Linked DNA regions of Homo sapiens: all the other regions are linked to region 2. Evidence: promoter capture Hi-C in 16 types of primary human blood cells and fetal thymus (Javierre and others, 2016). All regions are on one chromosome and are shown on one strand. The core of a region is centred on a gene start or on the middle of the fragment in contact, and the rest is flanking DNA. Distances in the headings are between cores, read along the strand shown. Region 1 has its middle 150 kb from the start of CSNK1G3. Region 2 holds the start of PHAX (phosphorylated adaptor for RNA export). Region 3 overlaps CSNK1G3 (casein kinase 1 gamma 3).

The links. The method cuts DNA at HindIII sites, captures the fragments that hold promoters and counts their contacts. A CHiCAGO score of 5 or more calls a contact.
Region 1: a fragment that was not itself captured here is called in contact with the fragment with the promoter of PHAX in region 2 in 2 of 17 cell types (total B cells and naive B cells); the score reaches 11.9 in total B cells.
Region 3: a fragment that was not itself captured here is called in contact with the fragment with the promoter of PHAX in region 2 in 1 of 17 cell types (total B cells); the score reaches 13.0 in total B cells.

Annotation. Positions count from the first base shown.
Region 1 is chr5:123,659,665-123,662,476 of GRCh38, reverse strand. No RefSeq gene overlaps it. Among named protein-coding and RNA genes, the nearest start is that of CSNK1G3, 150 kb to the right of the region's middle. The HindIII fragment of the contact is 936 bases long and covers 802-1,737 here.
Region 2 is chr5:126,599,617-126,602,582 of GRCh38, reverse strand. It overlaps PHAX (phosphorylated adaptor for RNA export), which reads right to left and starts at 1,636. Exons shown (of 5, transcript NM_032177.4): 1 at 1,525-1,636. The coding sequence starts at 1,620. RefSeq lists enhancers at 8-856, 857-1,704, 1,705-2,554 and silencers at 1,219-1,468, 1,589-1,798. The HindIII fragment of the contact is 34,757 bases long and covers 1-2,966 here.
Region 3 is chr5:123,615,847-123,618,730 of GRCh38, reverse strand. It overlaps CSNK1G3 (casein kinase 1 gamma 3), which reads right to left. Exons shown (of 14, transcript NM_001364140.2): 14 at 1,682-2,884. Among named protein-coding and RNA genes, the nearest start is that of CSNK1G3, 110 kb to the right of the region's middle. The HindIII fragment of the contact is 782 bases long and covers 982-1,763 here.

The DNA.
Region 1 (2,812 bases), core at 20-2,519, 2.9 Mb after region 2:
AGGTCTTGAAGAGAAAATGGGATTTGGTTCTAAGGGATGAGGTTGCGGGTGGGCTAGGAAACAACTGGAAATCTCGGAATTAGTGGGGGATGGTTCTGGTTCTTATATAGAAGAGACCAGAATCTCCCTCTAATACGGTGTCCTGATGAGGTTGACTGAGATAAAAATGAATCCTAGGAGGTATGGCCTTGGCTGCTACAGAAGAATTTCCACTGGCTTAGTTGTTTATAGGGAAAACTGATGCTCTGAACAACTGACCAACCCACTTTTAAATGTTCCAACTGGACTGAAACAACGAGCAGGGTCTGATCAACTATGCTCACAGAAAACCAGAGCCCCTAGTCCAGATTTCTGGCCTGATTAAACTCTCAAGGATTTGTTCAGCTCTAGGGTGGGGGAGGGCCTTCCCAGTCATGACTGATATTGGTTGTCTTGCTAACCTATTTGAACAGAGGCTTAGATTTAATTTGACTTAGAAAAATAAAGCAATATGACGTGTCTTACACTTGAGTGTTATGAAACAAATACATCTCTGCCTCAATCATAGTCAACACAAGCTCTCCCTCAGCAAAAATGTATTGTGCTCAAATAACATCACTGCATTAAATGCAACTGTTACCCAGAGTTTTTAGTCTACTGTCATTCTCTTCACACTTTGCCCATAACATGGCTGTTACACAGATTTAAATGAAGTTAAGAAATATTATCTAATAGCAATTAACAGATGAAATTGATGTGAGGATGGGACAGAATTCTAAATTCAAGGCCAACCAGTAAGACTTGCCATTGACTTGCTAAGCTTAGATGTCAGTAGCCCAAGGGCTCTGATAGGTATCTCTCTTTGTGAGCCATTCCAACAGCCCAAACATATTAGAGGCAGTGAATACTGTAGCACTGCACGCAGAGATACTCTCCTCTGATCTTTACATCTTGTGGTTGGCTAAATAATGTCCCCAAAGGTGTTCATGTTCTGATCCCCAGAACCTATAAATATTAATTGATTTGACAAAAGGGACCTTGAAGGTATGATTAAGTTAAGGATCTTGAGATGGGATTGACCTATATTATCCAGGTGGGCTCATGTATTCACAATTATCCTTATAAAAGAAAGTTAAGACACCAGAGGGAGGAGAAGTTAATATGACGACTGTGGAAGCAGAGACTGGAGTGATTGAGTGATAAGCCAAGGAATATGGGCAGTCTCTGGAAGCTAGAAAAAGTAAGAAACAGATTCTCTCCAAAGCCTCCAAAACAAACCAGACTTACCACACCCTGATTTAAGACCAATAACACTGATTCCAGACTTCTGACCTCCAGAAATGTGAGATAATAAATGTGTTATTTTAAGCCACTAATTCTGTGATAACTTGTAACAGCAGTAACAACAAACTAATACATATCTCTTTCTTTCCATATTCAGAGTGGTGGATAATTTAGATTGTGCTTCTTTATGTAGCCTAAGAGTCAAACTGGTCTAATATTAGTTTAATTTTCCCATTCAAATTTTGGAATTCATGCATTTCAGGCTAGAAAGAGAAATGATAAAGCCATCCACAGTGATCATAATGAAAACATGGAGAGCCTACACGTTCCAGGCTTTCTCACACATGCTACCTGGTATAATTCTCACTACAACCCTGAAGGATAGGTGGCAATTTCCCAATATTTTGCAGAAAAGGAAATAGGTCCAGAGATTAAGTAGTTTCTTTCCTCAAAACACATCTCCTCCAAGAAGCTTTTCCCTAACCCCTCTCCTCCCTGTTATTAGGTCGGGTGGTATGACTGGGCTCCCTCACAATCTCACTATTCCCATAGCACTCCGAGTCATAACACTTATCCACTTGTTCACCACACCCACCCTCTCTACACAGCCTTGAAGCCAGAAAACTATGCTTCATTTATCTCTTCTCTATAAAAGTGGCTAGTATACAGTTGGGGTTCAATATATCTTTGATAAAGATATGAATTAAGTACAAAATTAACACAAAATGTAGGAATTATGTAAGTATGCCCAAAGGATGAGGGCCCCTTTGATAGCTCACACACCCATCCAGATAGGATATTAAGAATCTTCTGACCCTCCTACAAGTTCTGTGACCCCAGCCAGTCTTCTCAATTACAAACAAGACTTGATGATATACTTCAAATTCAGAGAAGCAAGGAGGAGATTAAAAACAAGGGAATAATCATCTCTAATTCTTATATCAAGTTGTTTTTAGCTAACACTGTAGCTAAATAGAAAGTTACATAAATTTCTTCTCCTAAACTATCCCATAAAATTCTCAGTGTTTATCTAAGGAACAATATACCATTTCTAGATAAAGTACCTACACTTTTTTTTTGACAACCTACCTTGTTGATAACATTTTTAGTCATTAATTTCAGATTCAGGAAGAGAGAATTCAGCCATTTTTCATAGTCCTGCTGAAATCAGACACATTTCTGCTCAACTGAGCGCAGGATAATGCTCCATGATCTACTCAACTGAAACACATCACCTCAGCCACCATACGTTGCCAACTATTAAAACAAAATGGGAATCAGCTTTGCAACCCAATAGTTTACCTAAAAGTCTCTCTTAGGCAGGTTTGAACTTTATAGCATGAATTTCATTTTGCTGTAAGCTCTTACATTTATATTACTGCTTAACATCCACTCTTCATAGAAATCTGCCCTAACAATTTCAAACTATATTTATTCATGCTGAACAGTCTGCTTAACTACCAGCCTAAAATGCAGTACAGTTACCACAGAAATATTTCCTGTTATTTCAGAACTGTGAAGGTCAAACCAGTTTTATGCAAAGGGAAAC
Region 2 (2,966 bases), core at 387-2,886:
CAAGTATTTGTCTTTGTTAAACTCCTACTACGCTAGAAATGGAAGTTGGGACTATCTATCTTCCTATCTTCAAATAATAATCAGAGATAACACTTACCAGGCATTACTGCACACTGTATGCTCCACAGAATCCTTGCAATAACCCTATCAGTGGTACATCATGCCAATTCCACAGAGGTAGACAAAAAGCAGTGAGGCTAAATAAACCTGCTGTAGGTCACACATCGGTGGCCCCAGGATCTGAACACAGGCAGCCTGGCACCAACGCCCTCTCAAAGAGGTTGCTACCTACCAAGGCAGTCAAGACAAATTCCCGTTTAGAAAGCAGGGAAGCTGGGCCGGGCGCGGTGGCTCGCGCCTGTAGTCCCAGCACTTTGGGAGGCCGAGGCGGGTGGATCACTTGAGGTCGGAAGTTCAAGACCAGCCTGGCCAACATGGAGAACCCCCGTCTCTACTAAAAATACAAAAATTAGGCCGGGCGAGGTGGCTCACGCCTGTAATCCCAACACTTTGGGAGGCCGAGGCGGGCGGATCACCTGAGGTTGGGAGTTCGAGACCAGCCTGACCAACATGGAGAAATCTCGTCTCAACTAAAAATACAAAATTAGCTGGATGTGGCCGGGCGCCGTGGTTCACACCTGTAATCTCAGCACTTTTGGAGGCCGAGGCAGGCCGATCACTTGAGGTCAGGAGTTCGAGACCAGCCTGGGCAACATGGTGAAACCCCGCGTCTACCAAAAATACAAAAATTAACCGGGCGTGGCAGCGGGCGCATGTAATCCCAGCTACTCGGGAGGCTGAGGCAGGAGAATCGCTTGAACCCGGGAGGCGGAGGTTGCAGTGAGCCGAGATCGCGCCACTGCACTCCAGCCTGGGCAACAGCGTGAGACCACCTCAAAACAACAAACAAAATCAGAGAGGCTAATGCAAAAGCCTAGTGCCATGGTACCGCATGACAAAGCTAGGTTCGGTGGAAACATGGAAAACCAGATCTTTGAGTGAGCGATAAACTTCATTCCTGGGCCTCAGTCTCCCTTCGGCTCAGGGAGAAAATGAGCATCACAGGCTGTTTCAGGCTGATGTCCCTAGATGCTACATATTTGGCAAAATCTGCCCCTTTATGGTTACCTAGCGGCGATGGAGTGGGGAAGCCCCAAGTTTAGAAAAGAAAGAGCGGTAGGCGGAGGTGAGACGTCTAAGAGGCCGCCGCAAGCCGGCCTCCAGGAGGCGCCAGGGCTCGCGCGCCCCGCCTCGCAGGGAGCAGCCAGTTCGGGGTTCGCACGGCCAGCCGCTGCCGCTGCCGCCGTCGCCCCTCGCCCCTCGGCCCCCGCAGCCCGGGCTCCGTGAGCCCGCCTGGGGGACGTCTGCTCGCCCCTTCTGCGGCCACTGACCCGACAGCCTGGGCTCCTCGCTCTGGCCCGGGCTCCTAGCTCCCACCCCTCACCCTCACCGCTGCCTGCGCGCTCCCCGGGGCCCAGGCTCCGCGCGCCCAGCCACGATCACCCACCCTCCTTTCACACTCACTGGCAATTGCAGCGGCCTGTCGCTGGGTGCGACCGTCATGTCGGAATCCGAGTCGGAAAGCTGCCCATCTTCCATATCGCCGACCTCCAACGCCATCTTCCCGCGGTGCGCTGCGCTGCACAGCGGCGGGTCAGGAGAGCACTTCCGGCGGGGCAGCCGGAAGGCCCGGCGGCTCGGCTGCTCGGGCGCCCCCGCGCGGAGGCCAGCCTGTCCCAGCGGCCTGAGGCGTCCCATTGCATTCCAACTACCCCGGGAAAATGAATCCCTTGTTCCCCCAACACTTTTCTTCCAAACTTTATTTTCGTGCAAACATAAATATGTCACGTATCGCGGTCGTCTGGGATTCCTCCCTTGGCCGTACATCCTTCCCCTGTATGCTCTGGACAAGCCTCCCCGCTTCTGTTCTTGCTCCTCCACAATCCACTCTACATATTGCTTCCAGGGAAGCCTTTCAAGCTGTATAGTCCGCCCTCTGTATCCACTCCCCATCCACGGATGCCGAACCTGCGGATGGGAAGGACCCACCGTGCACCCCCACATAATGTAAGGGGCTTGAGCATGGCGGATGTTGGTATCTGTGGGGGTCCTGAAAACAATGACCCGCGGATACCTAGGGAGGATTGTACCTTAGCTCGAATCTTCCAAGTGCATCCCTCCCCAAAACAAGGACTGAGTTCTCAGCATGGTGTTTGAAATGTTTGTTTTCCGGTGTCGTAAAGAAATAGCAACATAAATTTAACTTACTGAATAAGGCCATTTTTACTTTCTGCAGAAAGGGTACACTCGCCAGCAGTTTTGCCAGGAGAGTACACTGAACAAAAGGAGACAGGGTCATTTATAACCTGACGTGTTTACCTTACTGCTGTGGCTGGTTTTTATTGGCTGGACCGGACCTCACATTTTGTATTTGTCCCGATTGGCTAGCAACTTAGAACTTTTTAAAAGAGGCAAAGGTAGAGGAGAACAAAGGAAGGAGGAAGTAACTTGTGGAATGCTGAGAAAGATGAAAACACTTTTAAATAAGGAAGAGGAACAGGCTATGACCTAATGCTTGCTTGGACTAGTAAAAGCATGCCAGGGCAAATATTTAGGCTAAATTGTGGGAGCTAAGAACATAAAGTACATTTTTTTTTATTATGGCTAGCAGATATTTAAGAATGTTAGCACAGATCTTTGAATAAATTTTGCTTTTAAGAGAAGTTACTATTTATTCCTAATTAGACGGGGAGGAAAGTTTTTGAAGAGGAACCTCTGTTTTACTTTGCCACATGGCAAACAAGGTCATGTGGACTGGGCATCTGGTCACTGGTCCTAGTGTGTCCCCCTGCCTAACCGCTGGCGCGCTGAACCTGTTGTTCCTCAGGCCAGGCCTCTGCATTTGCTGTTCACTCGGCCTGAGAGGCCCTTCCCTCAACCCACCCCATTCTTTAAGGGTTATCTTG
Region 3 (2,884 bases), core at 123-2,622, 3.0 Mb after region 2:
TACTGAACCTTAAGGCAACTGCAAAGGAAATTTTTCTATTTAATTATTCACTTAAATATACAATTGAGCATCCACCTAACCTTCAACAGGAAGTGATTAATATGCAATGTAATGACAGCTAAAAGGCAAATGGCAATAGCAGAATCTAATAGAATTCTATAAATACCTTCCAAATGATGAATATGATCAATTAAAATTACACAATCACAACTGATAACAGTACATGGATGTATCTATTTGAGTGAGAAGATGTTTTCAAAGATGAAATACAAAAAATCACATTACAGGCCAGCATTAACAAATGAATGCTTGCAATTAATTTTGAACCCCAATTTAGTGAGATATCCCCTCAAAATCACTCGATTCTTATCATTAGTAGCCCTGTATCACACAAAAAATTCAAGTATTAATATATTTTGAATTTTATCAATAAAATATATGTGAAAATTTTTCATTCTCATTAAATATATAAAAGCCTCAATTTTGCCTTTTGGCTCACAAAGCCTAAACTTTACCAAAAAAGATTCCAACCCCTAGTCTGGAGAAGTGCCAGAGTGTCTGACCATTTAAGTGAAATCAAAGTATAAATATCCCAATAAACAATTGGTTTAACAAAACCATTTTTATATCCCAATAATATTACCTGATCATTCTTCTATATATAGTCCTTTCTTTGGTTATGATCCATGTAGTCTTATGAACAAGTAAATGTCCTAAGAAAATAATTTATGTGGGTCTGTATTAGAATTGGGCAGAGAAGAAATTAGTTATCCTGAATATCAGCAAATCTTTATAATTCTATTTGCACTCTAGTAGAAAAAAAAGTTTTTAACTCTTCTCAACCAGTTCCATCACCATTGTGTCTCCTCAAGGTCAAACCATGACTCAGGCTCAGCTACTGGGAGAACAATATTCCCTTGTCCATAGTAATTGGCTCAGGGGTGGGCACATCAACCAATAAGGGAATGTCAGTCTTAAGCTTCTGTTGGAAATATTGAGAAAAATGGCCCTTTGTTTTTGCTGAGACTACTAAGATGGTAGGGTAGAAGTCTCAAGCTGCTGGATGACCACTTTACCATGACACATGGAAAGTCTTCCTGACAGTGAAAACAGCAGGGTAGGAAAGCAAAACCAAAAGATATGGAGAAGATTCCTGTCTTAACTCCAGGATTAAGCATGTCTGAAGGCAGTCCTACCACTGAACTTTTCAGTTAAATGAAATAATGTACACTCTTATTGCTCAAGCCAGGTTAAATTCTGTCACTTTCAATTCAAAGAGTTCTGACTAATGCAACTATACATTCATTCAGACTGAAATCCCAATCTTAAAGTCGAATTTTTCTAAATAGAGCCTTTAACAGTTTTGTGTCATCTCCAGATCTTTCTCCTGCTTCTGAAGGTCTCTGCTGCTTAATGGACACAATATTCACAGGGTGAGAGAGGGCTGCTTTGCCTTTTCTTACCTGTAGCATCCCTCAGTAAGTAGCGTACCATTAATGCCATTTTGTAAAATCCCTTAAAGCACCTAGCACAATGATGAACTATGAGATACTGTTAGAAATATGGGCTCCCCATCTACAATGATTTTAAAGTCATTCACTTAAAACTGGAATAATGCTTAATTTCTGTGAACATAATAGTATGATTCCATTCTCAAAAAGGAAAAATGATGCTATTTCCCTTAATTTATCAGAAGATGTATTTAATTATTGCTCTATTAAACAGTTCAGAGAAGTATAATTTTTTTTATATTAAAGAAAGCTTAGATCCTTCCTAGTGTGTGCTTTTTACCACTGGATTTCAAGAAAGCAAAACAAAACATAAAATAACAAAAGCATATTCCTTTAGCTCTGCTTCTCATATATAACAGACTAAATAAACCAAATTTTTATAATTCCTATCTTAAATTAGGGAGTGACATTATTTTACCCATCTTTAGAGGAAATGGGAAAGAGCAAGTTTAAAAAAACTACTTTTATTTTTTTTTATTTCTTTTTCAGTTACATACTTTTAAACAGGGATGTGTTTCATTATTCAGACATTCAGGCAATGTTGACTTCATTAGTGTTGACAGAAAATAAGCATAAAAATGCAAAACATTGTTGGCTTAACCTGAACATACCTGCATTACCTATTATTGACCAGTTTGTGTTGCCAAAAGACTTATTCCTCGGCATTAAAATGGAGCACTTAAAAATATTGCTAAAAAGCAAATGCCTACACACTGGTCTTTGCAGCAAATAAGGGTATTTATACTTTTAAAATATTTTAAGTCCATAATTGGATTAATATACACACCTTCTTATGTATAAGGAGTTCAGATCATATAAACACTGTACAATCCAAAAAACCCTACTGAGAATAAAACTAAATAGGCTTATGATAAGAAATACAGATATTCGCATGTATTTACAAATATCATAGACACACAAGTTTGGTCAAATACTGTAAAGAAAGAAGAAGTGGTTTCACATTATAATGGCCAAAATGTTTATCTACCTTGCTCAAAGCAAATAAAAATATAAACTCAGTATGTAACTCCTGCAGTTTAAGACATCATGACAGTATACAGATAGATAGAAACTGTTGACCAAATTATACAGCAAATGTTTTGTAGGTTAAGTGTAGGTCTTTAAAATAAAAAAAAGATCATTCATAGGATTCATAGCAACAATGATAAACAATGTCCTGATTTGTGGTGTTCATGTGGGTGCCTAATTCATCAAAAAAAAATGCATTAAACTTTTGGCTAATAAGAAAAATAAATTACAAAGTACAATTAAATCCCTGTAAATGCAATAATGAAGTAAAAAAATGTAGCTTTACTTTAATATACATCTTAAATGTTACCTTGAGACAATAAAAATAAATAAGCATGCCTGGA